Linked DNA regions of Homo sapiens: regions 2 and 3 are each linked to region 1. The links are contacts of gene promoters, found by promoter capture Hi-C in blood cells and fetal thymus (Javierre and others, 2016). All regions are on one chromosome and are shown on one strand. The core of a region is centred on a gene start or on the middle of the fragment in contact, and the rest is flanking DNA. Distances in the headings are between cores, read along the strand shown.

The links. Contacts are between HindIII fragments. The CHiCAGO score rates a contact against its expected background, and 5 or more counts as called.
Region 2: a fragment that was not itself captured here is called in contact with the fragment with the promoter of HDLBP in region 1 in 1 of 17 cell types (neutrophils); the score reaches 5.0 in neutrophils.
Region 3: a contact is called between a fragment that was not itself captured here and the fragment with the promoter of HDLBP in region 1, in 1 of 17 cell types (neutrophils). The highest score is 6.5, in neutrophils.

The regions. Positions count from the first base shown.
Region 1 is chr2:241,312,856-241,317,694 of GRCh38, forward strand. HDLBP (high density lipoprotein binding protein) reads right to left here and starts at 2,817. Exons shown (of 28, transcript NM_005336.6): 1 at 2,715-2,817. It overlaps SEPTIN2 (septin 2), which reads left to right and starts at 3,070. Exons shown (of 13, transcript NM_004404.5): 1 at 3,070-3,127. RefSeq lists enhancers at 1,793-1,842, 2,723-2,772, 2,793-2,892, 2,818-3,542, 3,533-3,592 and 1 more and silencers at 2,073-2,452, 2,993-3,342. The HindIII fragment of the contact is 7,846 bases long and covers 1,473-4,839 here.
Region 2 is chr2:240,550,845-240,555,683 of GRCh38, forward strand. It overlaps ANKMY1 (ankyrin repeat and MYND domain containing 1), which reads right to left. Exons shown (of 18, transcript NM_001282771.3): 3 at 4,022-4,211; 4 at 2,070-2,213. Among named protein-coding and RNA genes, the nearest start is that of ANKMY1, 4.7 kb to the right of the region's middle. RefSeq lists a silencer at 1,030-1,129 and an enhancer at 4,338-4,838. The HindIII fragment of the contact is 3,033 bases long and covers 1,023-4,055 here.
Region 3 is chr2:240,575,596-240,580,434 of GRCh38, forward strand. It overlaps RNPEPL1 (arginyl aminopeptidase like 1), which reads left to right. Exons shown (of 11, transcript NM_018226.6): 8 at 1-15; 9 at 940-1,170; 10 at 1,253-1,395; 11 at 2,004-4,839. The coding sequence ends at 2,297. Among named protein-coding and RNA genes, the nearest start is that of CAPN10-DT, 8.3 kb to the right of the region's middle. RefSeq lists enhancers at 3,617-3,911, 4,409-4,528. The HindIII fragment of the contact is 5,908 bases long and covers 1-4,839 here.

The sequences.
Region 1 (4,839 bases), core at 1,567-4,066:
CACAATCATCTCAAATTCTGTTCAGGTCAGAGTATCTTAGATAAAACTCACTGAAGGGCATCAAGTCCTTCAGTACACAGTCTGAGCCAAGCCCTCTACCATTTGCCATGGCAAGAGTATACCAAATTCTAAACCTGTTGCTCACGTATGCCACCAACTATAAATGTCAGCCTCCTCTTTCCTAGTCTTCCTGTCCACTCAGCACCACCTGGAAAAACTCTTACTCGTCTTTTAAACCGCAGTTCAAGGACCACATTCTGTAGGAAGACTTTCCAACAGGTAACCACTGCCTATTTCCTATGTCCACACCTTACACATATTTCTATCATTGCACTTATCACACCATAATGTAATTACTCTTCTACAAATAAGTCTCTCACACTAGACCACAAGCTGCCTGAGGAAAAGAAAAGTCTATATCCTCTTTTTTTGTTGGCTTTTTGAGACACAGTCTCACTCTGTCGCCCAGGCTAGAGTGCAGTGCTACAATCTCGGCTCACTGCAACCTCCGCCTCCTGGGTTCAAGCGATTCTCATGCCTCAGCCTCTTGAGCAGCTGGGATTACAGGCGCGCGCCACCATGCCAGGCTAATTTTTGTATTTTTAGTAGAGACAGGGTTTCACCATGTTGGTCAGGCTGGTCTCGAACTCCTGACCTCAAGTGTCCACCCGCCTCGACCTCCCAAAGTGCTGGGATTACAAGCGTGAGCCACTGCACCTGGTCGAAAAGACTATATCCTCTCAACCTTTGTATCTGCAGAACCCTTAACCCTACACAGCAATTTCCAGCAAATATTTTTTTGAATTGAAATGAAGAAGTGAGGTCATGAGGCTGAAGTCAGACAACTGGAAGGCCAAAACAACAAAACCTGGAAAAATACGTATTTACTCAAGAAGAAATTCTCCCACCAGGCCACTGAGAAGTTAGCTTTGCCCACTGGAGAGGACACTGTAACAGGGATTCAAGTAAGCCTAGTGGCGCTGAGGGACGTGATATAGGTCAACTATATCTTTGAGGTGCTCTCCTTACACTCAATGCACTTTTACCCGAATGACGTTAATTTGACTCCTGATAAGATGAGCTAAGTCCCTTCAACAGTGCTTGGCACCAAGCAAAACTAATAGCAGTAACAGGAAAGTTTAATCCTCATGATGAATTATTTAATGGGGTTTCAAACGCTGTCCCTGAGACTTGAGGCAGTAGGCTCCAGCTCCATTTTCCCCAAGTCTAAAACTTGATAGGTTGATGTTTCAGACTCAGAGATTCGGTAATCCAAATGATGGAAATAATTCTTACCCAAACACCTTTTCAACTATTTTTAAATACTGTTGCCAAGCATCCTAATATCATGTGTACTTAATGAATTTAGCCTAGGGATACTTTTACATGTCAAAAAATCAAAATATAAACCTAAGCACTACGTTTCATCCAGTGTTTCAGCATCCCAGATTTGCTTCCCTAAATGAACATTAAGCTTATTATGCAATGTGCCGCTACCAGGAGCCTTAGACAAAACCCTAATTGTGACTTAACCTATCTTAATAGGGTTTTAAGGAAGTTAGCTGCTAAGAAAGTGACTATCCTTAAGCAGACACCAAATAAATGTGAAGTCATTGATTGAGGGCTTAGGGTATAGGTAGCTATGAATCTGAGGACATAAAACGCAAAACTGAGGGGCAAATCGTCATGTTCCTTAAGATTACGACTCATCCACATTCCTTCAGCCGTTTAATTTCACCATAATAGGCACTGTTTAATAAGCAAAGCCCAAGTCGACTTCCTTCGATTTTACATGGCGTCCAAACACCATGTCAAGTCTGACCCTCTCATTTTTTAAGTCGAATGGAGAGGATATGTAGCAGCTAGCCTTGAGCACCTAACCACTTTTCAAAGGAGCTACGCACAAAAATACCCTAGCAACATGCCACGGTGTCAGAAAGGCTCAGGTTCCCAACACCATGCGGGTCAGCCATTAGGAACTCAGGAAGTGTTTCCTCTAAGCGGGGGAAACCTAGGAAGGCTTCCTGAACGAGGGGTATTTGCGCCAAGCCTTGACGTGAGTCTCGAACAGTTGCAGTGCCTCCAGGCCACGCGGGAGGGAGGAAAGGACACCCCGGGCCGGGGCACAACCCGCGGGCCGGAGCCGCCCGCGCCCATCCCGCTCAGGCCGCAGCCAGGCACGGCACCCTCCCGTCCCCGAGCCACGTCGCTGCTCGTGGGCTCGCGGAGCACTCCCCAGGTCTCACCTCGGGCCCCACACCAGAAGGAGAAAGCTAGGGGCCGCGCCAGCTCCGCCCTCCCCCGCGGGGCGGCGGGCCCCAGCCCGGGCACAGGAAGGCCACGTCCCCGGGGAGGGACGCCCGACTCGATGGTCTGCGCAGGGCCCGTCGGCCCCACGTGACGTGCGCGCAGCCAATCCCAGAGAGGCCCCCCGATCATCGAGACGGCGGCGGTGGTGGGCTAGACGAGTTTCGCGCGGCCGCTCGCCGTCCCCCGCCCAGTCGTACTCGGCGCCCCAGCTCGGTGCTGCCGCCATCTTCTTGGAGGACAGGAGGAGAGGCGAAGGCTCCCCCTCCCCGTGATCGCTCCGCACTCCCGCCACCACCTGCCCTCCCGCGACCGCCTCTCTCCTCCTCAGTGGGCACTTGTCTCCTTCTAACAAACGGCCTTCCCCCCACTCCAGTTACCCACCGCAAGGCGAAGATTCTCATTACCTGTTCCACTCTTATAAGCATAAGAAAACCGAGCTCATAAGGTAGGAACTGTGGCGAAACAGGGACAAGCCGCCATCTTGGTAAAGGAGAAGAGGCTACGCTTGACCTCCCCCCCCACCCCCAGCCTCTATATGGCCAACTGCCGTGGGAGGAGCACGGCGCTTGCGCAGAGGCGGACAACGCGGACGACTCTGGGCTTGCGCACTCGGAAGCCGGCCGCATGGGGGAGGGGAAGAAGGCCAGGTCGCACTGAGCCAGGAAGCAGTTGGCAAAGGGGCGGGGTGACGCGGTGACGCAATCCGCCTGCGCGCTGGGCGGGGCGGGGCGGGCTGGGGCGGGCTGTGAGCGGACCGCGAGCGCTGGGCGGGTCCGCGGCGCGGTCGGTCGGCGCCTGTTCTCGGGCTGTTTGGCGGGTGAGTGTCTCGCCGGTGTACCCCGCACAAGTTGTGGGCCGGCCCTCCCGAGGAGCTGCGGGGGACGCGCCGCTCGTCCCATACTCTCGGGCGGTGGTCGGCTGGCTCTGGGGTGCCGGCGGGGCGGTGTGGGGGAGGGGCGGCCGAGCCCAGGCTCTTCGGCACTTATCGTGGGCTCCCCCGTCCCGGGCGGTCCTAGTGCCGGCGACAGTGGCTCCGACACGGGCAGGCCCGGGCGCGGGAGTGGGGATTCCGGTGACCCCTTGTTGACCCTGCGGGAATTCCTCTGCACTGTCGTCGGTGCTGGGCCTCGGGGCGTCGAGTGCGGTCGAGGTCGGGAGGTTTGGTGCTTGGAGGGAGGATACAGGTTTAGGCCCGACAAACACTTAGAGCTTGTGTGGCCATCTTGTCTTTCTAACGGTGCCATTTCCTCCCTGAGGCGTGGAGGACTGGCCAGCCCCCAAACCTCCAAGCCCATCGGCTGGATGCCGTGGATAAGCGAGGGGAGAGCGACTAGGCCCTGTCTGCGGGTACCTTCGGCGAGGAGAGGCGACGAAGGTCTGCACCAGCGAGGCACGGACAGGCAGCAGGGGGTAGGGTATAGGGTTGGAGGCCGCCGAGTTGGCCCGGGGATGAGGAGCAAACCTGTGGCTTCCGTGGTCTCAGTGGAGTCCCAACTGTGACCTGGCCTACTGGCCCAGACAAACCTGGCTTGCTTTTTTACCTTTTCGGTCTAATTCTTGTCAGTGCCACCAGACCTTGTCCTCTCTCCACGGAAACACACGAACCAACTACACTGAACTTCTTGTAGTTCAAACTTCTGCACCTTTGGCCATTGCCCAAACTCTTAAATCTGGCTACTTCCCACCTTAACTGCCTTCTCCTTACCTAGTCTGTGCTTGTGGGATTCCGCCCAAATTAGATTTCCTCCAGACAGGCTTAGGTGTTTACCTGATGTTCCAGATGGTATTTGTCCAGTGGACTATTGGTGCTGTGAGGGCAGGGCACATGTTGTCACCCATACTCATTGCCTCGGTTGGTGTCTAGCACCTAGTAGGTTCTCAAATACTTTTTGAATCACAGTGCCTGCCGATATATTTAATGTTTCAAAATAGTTCTGCCGTCATAAAGAAAAACATCATGGTGTAGGGGTCATGAAAGCTGATTCTTGATACTTCTGATTTGAGCCTCATTGTTTTCAGTGATTTTTGATAGCTCCCATTAATGGGTTCTTTGCACCACCCAGCATCCTAACTCATGATGTGTACTGTTATGTATAATCTTGGCATTGATCTCATTAGCTATAAAGGTTGTCCTGATTTTTTTTCCTCAACTTCCACCTTGATTTCTCTCACCAGTGCCACAGCCAGGAATAAAGAACAAGAGCGTTTTAATTAGATCAGATTTACATTCTGACTGGCTCTTAAACTAGCAAGGTGACCTAGGGAAAGGGGCCAGGGTTTCCCTCTATCATTCATAAATGTAATTCAGGGCCCCTTTTTATCCCCAATACCAGCATACAGAAACTGCTGTAAAAGAAGAAGTTGTGGGTATTTTTTTTTTTTTTTTTGTCTGGAGGAATGGGGACACCAAAACTCATTTGGCAGCAGAGGTGAGGTAAGGCCATTTGTATTGTCTGTTCTGTTAGTAGTCATACATGCCACTTATCCCTGCCCCAGTCCCTGTTAGGAGTGTTATGTGGGTATACTGAA
Region 2 (4,839 bases), core at 1,289-3,788, 760 kb before region 1:
TCTATCTTTTGACTATGGCTGCCTTAAGACTTTTGTCATCCACAATTGTTTTGCTTTGATCTTTCTCAAAAAAAGTGACTTGTAATCAGCTACCGTCCAGGGCTTGCTTCTTTGGGGGAGTTCCTGAAAAGGACTATTGAATTCAGGTGTCTGATAACTTTGGCGATTGTGCCACTGGATGAGAGAGAAAACTTCCACTGCACTAATTGGAAGGCTGATGTGTTCATAAACATTGCTCACCCAATATGACACAGGGCAGGAGCTGACTGCATGGACTCAGCTAACAGAACACTGGAATGCTTTTTATGTTTTTTTTTTTTTTGAAATATTGCTGATTCTTCTTTTGTCTTTCAGAGTCAGGATAATTTTTTTCTTTTGAGCTATTCATAACCTTGAAATATACTTTAAGTGTACTGAGTAGAGTATACATTTGTAAACAAAATTTGAGTCATATTTCTCTCTGCCTAATTTCTCCAGAATTTTTAAACTATTTGTGAATATTCTTAATTCATGGCAACGTGTTTGTTTGCATATGTTTAATAAGAATCTGTTTTATTTTATAATGGGACACAGCTGGGGGAACTGGTTATTTTCCCAAGGCTTTAACTGAAATGGCCTTGCGAGAGGTTCCGGCAAAGCCAGTTTAGGACAGCCTATGCGAACCACAGTTCTTGCTGTGCTTTGTGTGGGTGATCAGGGCACCAGGAAACTGAAGCTTATTTTGCAAGTAGGTTGTCCTACTGTTATTTGTCTTTGATGCAAGTGGGGGAATGGAAAGAGATTGTCTTTTAGAAGAAAACTCTATTTAGATTAACCTTTGATTCCTAAGTGACCACATGGTCACCCATGGTATGGAGCTGCCCACAACGCCCCTCCTCAGCATGGAGCAGCCAGAAAGACCCACAACCTGATTCCCCATGGTTGAGGAACTGATAAACAAAAAGGGGGGACTGAAACCAGCCCAGTAATCCTACAGAGAGTTGTTTCCAGATAAACATAGAAATTGACCCTTCTGGTCTTAAAGCTTGAAACTTAAATTTGTTTTATCTGAGTTTCTTCCTCAGGAAAGACCTTCAGGCCTCTCAAAAAGTATCAAAGAGCTGAAACTCCTCTCAGAAAGTATCAAAGAACTGAAACTCACCAGACCATGGCATTCAATGTGACTCCAGGCCCTTTGTTCACCGTGACTGCTTCCTCACCCCTCCCAAGTTCCTGCTTTCTCACACATTATTACATTTCTTCCTTGATATATAAACCCCTAGTTTTAGTCAGGGGGATGGATTTGAGATTAAGCTCCCATCTCTTCAGCTGCACCTCCAAATTACAGCCTTCTTCCTTGGCAATACTCATTGTCTCAGTGATGGGCTTTCTGTGCAGGAAGCGGAAAGATCTAGAGCGAACCCCTGGTGTTTCAGTAACAGCCACTCATATTGGCTCAGAATAAACCTCTTTAAAATATTTTGCAGAGTTTGTTTTTTTTCTGTTGACACCATTAATATGGCATTCTCACAAGGGCAAAATTCTAGGCCAAAATAGATCAGCCACAGTTTGTTGAAGGAGACATTTATTACAAAGGCCATGGCAATATTTTGAGGGTGATGGAACTGTTTGTATATCCTGACTACAGTAGTAGTTACACAACCCTGTAATTGTCAAAAATTTCAGAACTATATATTAAAATGGGTGAATTTTACTGTAAATTATACTGTAATAAAAGGGGGAAAGGCATCTGTATTTGAAAGACTAGGCATGTTCTCCATTTAAAAAGGCACATTTCAAACATTATGTGTACAGTGATCCAGTTTACATATTTAAAAATAAACACGTGCGTTTCTTAAATCTAAAGGACATGTAACAATTTGCTGGTATCCCTCTGGGGAATAAAATGCAAGGAGGCTTTTATTTTCAGTCTATATCCTTATTATTGGTACCATTTTAATCATTAAAAGTAAAAAAGCTACTTGTAGCTAAACAAATAAACTTCCCCAGGACCGAAATATCTTTTTGTCCAGTGGCTTAGACACACACAGCCACTTCGACCCCAGCTGAACACATGGCAGCCCCCTCACCTGGAAAAGCCGTGTCTTCATGTACATGGTGCCGTAGCCTTCTCGGTGGCTGAGGTAAAATGTGCCCGTGAAACTGGAGCCATCTGGCCACATGTAGGTACCCAGGCCATGGCAGTGGTCCCGGTAAAACTGCCCATGGTATGACTGTGAGATGGAGAAGTTGGTGAGAAATTGCTGCTCTTCCAGAACCTGACGGGATGCCCTTGAGGCTGAGCCACCATGCCTGGTTGGCAATGAATGGGGACCACCCAGGGCTGTGGCAGAACTCAGGGATGCCTGGCATGCGACTATTAGAGTCGGCAACTGAAGCACCCAGAGGGGTTACCAGGCAGTCAGCCTGATAGCCAGGCTCCCTCTCTGTCTTCTCCTCAGGTGGGGGACTGTGGGGAGGCTTAAAACTACCTAGACATCCTGAGTCAGGAGAGCACGGACATGCCTTCTCCCTGGTGACCTTGATCTTAGGTTTGGAGGGTCCTGTCCCCACTCAGGAGCCCCATGCTGCTGAGCTCCCTGCCAGGTTCACAGGTGACAGGCTGGCCCTGGAAGGCTGGCTGTAGGCCCCAGTAGGCACAGGGGAGGACTCTGATTTATAACTCTTCAGCACTGGTTGGACACGTGAGCTCCACAAACAACAGGAGTGAGTGTATCAGAGCCTGCCCCTTTACCAAGGCCCCCAGAGGGAAAAAGAATGTGACATTTGGCCGGGTGTGGTGGCTCACATCTGTAATTCCAGCACTTTGGGAGGCCGAGGCAGGCGGATCATCTAAGGTCAGGAGTTCAAGACCAGCCTGACCAACATGGTGAAACCCTGTCTCTACTAAAAATACAAAAATTAGCTGGGCGTGGTGGTGCATGCCTGTAATCCCAGCTACTCAGGAGGCTGAGGCAGGAGAATCACTAGAACCCTGGAGGCAGAGGTTGCAGTGAGCCGAGATTGTGCCATTTGCACTCCAGCCTGGGCAACAAGAGTGAAATTCCATCTCGAAAAAAAAAAAGAATGTGACATTCATGACAAGGGCTTCCAGCCAGGAGACCTCATGCTGAGTGCCAAGCACCACCTTTTTCTCAGAAACAGGGTGGGCCTGGAGTGCCCGCACAGCCATCCATGCTCACAGTCCACCCAGACCTGACCCCGACGTGAAGGGCATGGCAGTTTTCACAGCTTAGTGTCCCTTCCCTTTCTTCTGACAACAGATGCCCTCTCCCTACAGAGAGGATTCCCCAAGGGACCCAGCCCCAGTGCCTGGGCCAGGCCTGGCCAACCAGAGGACGCCTTACCCCTGCCCCATCTTGATGCACTTCATGCATCCCCAAGTCAGACCAGCGTCCTGCTGGGGCCTTTCTCTTTCCCAGGGGTGTTTGATGCCACCCCCAGGGGCTGGGCAGATGGAACAAGGTCAGTCTTAGAACCCCCTCGTGGAGATGGAAAGAGAGAGGACCTAGTTACATCATTAGAATCCTGGATCCAGCCAGGCCTGAGGCTACCTTACCCCTGGACTTTCCATGGCAAGCGCCAACAGAGGCCTTTTCAGTTTCAGCTGCATTGAATGTGGGCTCAGGACCTAGCCTGGGGGTGCAAAACTTGTTCTCATTTTGTCTTTTAGAACATTCGCTGCCTTCTGCTTAAGCCTAGACACAGGCAATTTCACCAAGGTAAATATACGAGTTGCTATGGCAATTCATAATTTTAAAACGTCTGCCCAGAATAAGAACTTATCTTCTTAAGTCACAGCTTCCCAAACCTCATCCTGGGACCCCAGCAAACCATGGGTGTGATTTTGGAAGTTGGGAAAGATGCTTTTCTCTGGACATTTCTCAAGGAGGAAAAACTTTAGCCTAGCACCCTTCCTGTTGATGGGCCTAAAAGTTCCCGTCCCATCACTCTTGGAAGGATAAAGGCCAGCCACCAGAGGCCCTAGGGGAGGAGGCGGAGAAAGTGTGGAAGCAGTTACCTCGCCTGTGGGCCAAGAGAATTTGCCATATCCAAGCTTCATGTTCAACCCAAACTCCCCCTGGTACATGCAACCATCCTGCCACTCCTGCACACCCTGGACGAGCTGGATGTAGGACTCCCTCAGGTCCTGCGCCCTCAGCGGGCCCTCAGCTTCCTCCTCTTCCTTCTCAGGGGCTGCTGAAACATCCCTAAAAGGACAGGAGCAGAAGGAGGGAAGAGTGAAGTGGCTGCAGTGCCTTCAGTGACTGCTGAGCACAACCCCCGAGCACAACCCAGCATCTCATTTCATCCCACAGTCCCGGGGCAGGTGCCGCTGCATCCCCACTCCACTTGGAGAGAAAACCGAGGCACAGAGGGTGCAGCGATTGCCCAAGGCCACACAGGAAGTGGAATGCACAGTAAGGCTGCCAACGGATAGGAGAGATGCTGCCAGGCTCTAGAGGCAGGACCAGTCGGCCTGTCCAGCCCGGGCCTGCTGGCGGCATCTCCTGAGATCGATGGCCCTCTGTCCCACTCCAGCTGCCTGCAGGACGTGGGTGCCCACAGCAGGGTCCTCATTCAAGGGCCAGGAGTGCCAGCCCCAAGCTGGACAGAAAACAGACTGCCCACACATGTGGACCCATGGAAGGTCGGAAGGCAGCTCGAGAGGCAGCCAGCTCATACTAGGATGGACAGGTGGATAGGTGGACAGATGGATGGATGCAGGGCTGGGGAGTATGCTGCAACAGCGGGGAGCACAAACCAGGGTGGATTTGCCGTAACTCATAGGGCGTCCACAGACAGACAGGGCATGTCAGACCCCCCACAGATGGACAG
Region 3 (4,839 bases), core at 684-3,183, 740 kb before region 1:
TGGACTGCCGGGCAGGTGAGGCTGACCCCCAACCCTGCAGCCAGGGAGCCGTGGGTATGATGGCAGGCGGGGCCTCTGCTGCCTGAGGGGCCACTCCACCTGGAGGAAAGCCCTGTCAGTTCACTGTCTGTCCTTCAGCCAACCCTTGCTGGACCATGTGGGCCCCAGGCTGGTATGCTATGAGAACAGGGCTGGGGTTGGGGGCCTCCCTGGGGCCGGTGGCACAGGCTAAGCAGGCCGAGTCAGGCACTCCCAGGAAGCGGGCCATGGAAACCAGGTGTGCAAAGGGCCTGGTGCAGGAAGGGCGGGTGACGGGGGTGTCCTGGAGCTGGAGAACAGCAGCCAGCCCTGTTTATGTGTCACTTGTAAAGGTGTCCCTGAGGGTCTGAGGGCTTGGGGCCCAGGAAGGCACTGCAGGGTTCAGACATTGAGGGAGAGGCCAGAATTGCTGGAGGGTGGTGAGGTGCCACTGGGAGGGCTGTGCATGGTGACACCAAGTTTTGGAAGGTACAGCAAGTGCATCAAGAGCTTTTTGTGGGTAGGGAATGGGCACTGCCCTTTAAGAGCAGGAATATCATCTTAAGAGCCTGTTGCCCCCATCCCGCCCCTGCTGGTTCATGGCGCAGGTGGCCTCCACCAGCACTGAGGTTGGGTTTAGACTACTTCATTGTCTTCCACCCAGGAGAGGCGTGGAGTGGGTGCGAGTCCCTTGGTCACCAACCCAAGTCTCTGCTTCCCTGTACCCCTTCACAGAAGCCCCTTCAGTGGCTTCAAGTGGCAGTGCTGGCTGGAGCTGACTCCGCCTTCCTGAACAGCCCACGTCCCTGGAACAGGCCACCTGCCTGGAACACACTCAGGGTCTGGGGTCTCCTGGGCAGATTGCTCAGGCAGCCCCTTCCTAGCCTGGGCAGGGACCCCAGGGTCACTTCTCCCCTCTAGGGCTGGAATTCGAGCGCTGGCTCAATGCCACAGGCCCGCCGCTGGCTGAGCCGGACCTGTCTCAGGGATCCAGCCTGACCCGGCCCGTGGAGGCCCTTTTCCAGCTGTGGACCGCAGAACCTCTGGACCAGGCAGCTGCCTCGGCCAGCGCCATTGACATCTCCAAGTGGAGGACCTTCCAGACAGCACTCTTCCTGGACCGGCTCCTGGATGGGTCCCCGCTGCCGCAGGGTGAGTCCCTGCAGCTGATGGGGGCGGCCCAGGGGCTGGGGTGCAACAGCGGCCCAGCCCTGACCTGCCCCCTGCGCTGCAGAGGTGGTGATGAGCCTGTCCAAGTGCTACTCCTCCCTGCTGGACTCGATGAACGCTGAGATCCGCATCCGCTGGCTGCAGATTGTGGTCCGCAACGACTACTATCCTGACCTCCACAGGGTGCGGCGCTTCCTGGAGAGCCAGGTGCGGTCACCTGCCCAGGGGGCCAGCCTGGAACGGCCTAGCCGTGCGGACTGGGAGTCCCACCCGACTCCCTAGTCTGAGCCCTTGGGGCAGGCCAGGCACATTCTGGAGAATGGGGCGGGGAAGACGTAGGGGTCTGTTGGGAGTGGGGGCATGCACCGGGTGCAGGTACCAGAGGGCAGCCTGGACTCCACCAGTTCTTGGAGAAACTGTGGAAGGGACCAGCTGGGAGCAGGAGTTTAGGGTCCAGGCCACCACAGCCTGCTGGGCCCTGGGCCTTCAGCGTCCTGGTCTGGGCAGAGGGGACGTCCCAGCTCCTCAGAGGGAGGCCAGAGCCCTCAGGCCCGTGGGCCCTGGCTGCCCTGCTCCCTGTATGTGCTCCCTCCAGCCCAGGTTCCCTGGAGATGGGGCCTCCATGGTTGGCCTGGAAGGGCAGGGTGGAGGTGGGAGGCTAATGGTAGGCCTCCTGGCCACCGGAGTCCAGGCCACAGCCCTAATGATGAAGCTGGGAAGCCAGGGGCAGGAGGGCCGCCTGGCCGGGCTGGCAGGGTGGGCTGGCTCGAGGGGCCTGGGGAGCCCACCAGTGTGACCGAGTGCCCCTCCTGCAGATGTCACGCATGTACACCATCCCGCTGTACGAGGACCTCTGCACCGGTGCCCTCAAGTCCTTCGCGCTGGAGGTCTTCTACCAGACGCAGGGCCGGCTGCACCCCAACCTGCGCAGAGCCATCCAGCAGATCCTGTCCCAGGGCCTGGGCTCCAGCACAGAGCCCGCCTCAGAGCCCAGCACGGAGCTGGGCAAGGCTGAAGCAGACACAGACTCGGACGCACAGGCCCTGCTGCTTGGGGACGAGGCCCCCAGCAGTGCCATCTCTCTCAGGGACGTCAATGTGTCTGCCTAGCCCTGTTGGCGGGCTGACCCTCGACCTCCCAGACACCACAATTGTGCCTTCTGTGGGCCAGGCCTGCCATGACTGCGTCTCGGCTCTGGCCATGAGCTCTGCCCAGGCCCACAAGCCCCTCCCCTGGGCTCTCCCAGGCAGGGAGAATGGGGAGAGGGACCTCCTTGTGTCTGGCAGAGACCTGTGGACCTGGCCTCCCCACTCCCAGCTCTCTTGCACTGCAGGCCCTGGGGCCAGCCCGCACACACCATGCCTCCTGTCTCAACACTGACAGCTGTGCCTAGCCCCGGATGCCAGCACCTGCCAGGTGCCGCCCCGGGGCAAGGGCCCCAGCAGCCCTATGGTGACCGCCACACTGTGCCTTAATGTCTGCCGGGGGCCCAGGCTGTGCTGTCCCTGCAGCACGCCTCCTTGCAGGGATCTGAGCCACCCTCCCCGCACAGCCCTGCACCCCGCCCCTGGGGTTGGCAGCCTCAGTTGGCCCCTGGCAGAGGAACAAGGACACAGACATTCCCTCAGTGTGGGGGGCAGGGGACACAGGGAGAGGATGGTTGTCCCTGGGGAGGGCCCTCTGGCCCCAGGCAACCTTAGCCCCTCAGAACAGGGAGTCCCAGGACCCAGGGAGAGTGTGGGGACAGGACAGCCTGTCTCTTGTAGCTTCCTGGGGTGGGAGGCACAGGGGCAAAGCAATACCCCAGGGAAAGTGGGAGGTGGTGCTGGTGCTCTCTCCAGGCCCACCATGCTGGGAGAGGCGGCCAGAGCCTGGGGCCTCCAGCCTGGGACTGCTGTGATGGGGTATCACGGTGATGGTCCCATTAAACTTCCACTCTGCAAACCTGATCTCCTGCGCTCTTTCTCGCGACTCTTGTCCTCTGCATCTTCCTGGCTGTGTAGGGTGGGCTGGCCTGCCGGGACTTGGGGCCTGGAGCTGGTCAGGAGCTGGGTGTGGCCCCCTCCTCTGATACATAAGCCCGAGAGCAGGCTCCCCGAATCCTGCCCAGCCCCTTGGCTGGACCCCCTGGGCCTGAGTAGCCTCTGGATGTCACAGGAAAGCCATGTGTCACCTTCACTCTGGGCCTTCACCTGTGGCTTAAGCCAAATCCCGGCCTCAGTGGTGATCCTTTCCCAAGATGGGTACAAGGTGACAGGCATGTTTTGTTTTGGAGAACTGAGATTTCCATTTTCCCAGGCGATAGGTGTCGCTGCCCTTCACAGTCCCCAAGGATGTGGCGCCACCATCTCAGTGCCACGCACACCTGGCCAACATGCCGTGGCCCAGAAGCAGCACGTCTCTTCTCCCAACCCGCTGGCCAGGCCCAGTCACAGCCCCACTCCACACATGGCAGCCAGGAAGTGGGGAGGGCAGGAGGTGCTGGGCAAATAACCCTGATACCATCACTGTCCAGTCCCCAGTCACCAAATGTCCCACTCACCCTCCTTCCTGTTCTGGATGCCCCGCCCCTCCCCTCCCCTCCCAAGGACATATGAGTCCCCTCCAGTGGCGGTGGCAACTCTGGTCTAGGGTCTGGGGCCGTCTCTACATGTGTTGCTTCATGTACCTTCTTCACATCAGGTCTGGGGGAGGCGCCACCCCATCCAGAGACCTAGGAACTAGAAGACTGCCACTGCCCCTCACACCCAGGGATAGGATGACTGCAGTAACCCCTGTGAAAGCGGGTATGGAGGGCACCTGGCAGCCCCTGCTGCATGGCCATCTAAAGTCTTGCCAGGCAGGCACAGCTAGGGCCCCTGCCTGGGAGTGGACACCCCACTCCCCCAAGTCATGTTCTCTGTGGCCTGGGGCTCCAGCCTTGGGAGGACCCCTTTCCTGTTTCTTAACCATGCTTGATGGTGTCCTCAAAGGAGCCCTGCTCAGTGGCAGAACTGCTTTCTCAGCCTCTTCCCCGCCAAGGTTGTTTTCAAGTCCCAGCAGTCACAGACTTTCATCCTGGGCTCTTCTTTCTTTTGCAATTCAGCTCTCGAAATGACTCTGTGGTCTGCGGGTGACTCCACTCCACGTGCCTACAGCCACGCCCACAGCGCCACCTCCGGACGCTGCTGAGCTGCGCACCTGTGCCTGACACCTGGCTTTGGGAAACTCAGCAGCAGTGCCCAGCGTCATGACCCTGGGGGCAGGAGGGCATCTGGATCCAGGATGGCACCCTCACCACAATCTGTCTTGGCTCTGTGCCCGCCCGTGGGGTACACAGGAGGGCTCTTTCAGCCCTAAGTCCTTGTGTTCCTGACCTTTGTTCCTCTTCCACCCAGCTTGCAAGTGCAGAATTTTTTTTTAGCTCGTCGCTTCCCTGCAGTCCCTTGTCCAATGCAGCCTCCGGCCGATACTCAGGCCAGTGTTGTTTCCCAACCTCTCCACTAGATACGCACACTTAGCTCACGGTCTGCCTCATGAGTCATCCCAGTTGAGCTTTACCAAATGTTTTGCCCCACCTAACAGCCTGCCCACATTCCAAATCCTGGCAGGTCGCACGTTTTATTAGCACAGCACCCCTCTCCTAGCGGCCAGCTTCTCTATTAGGCCACG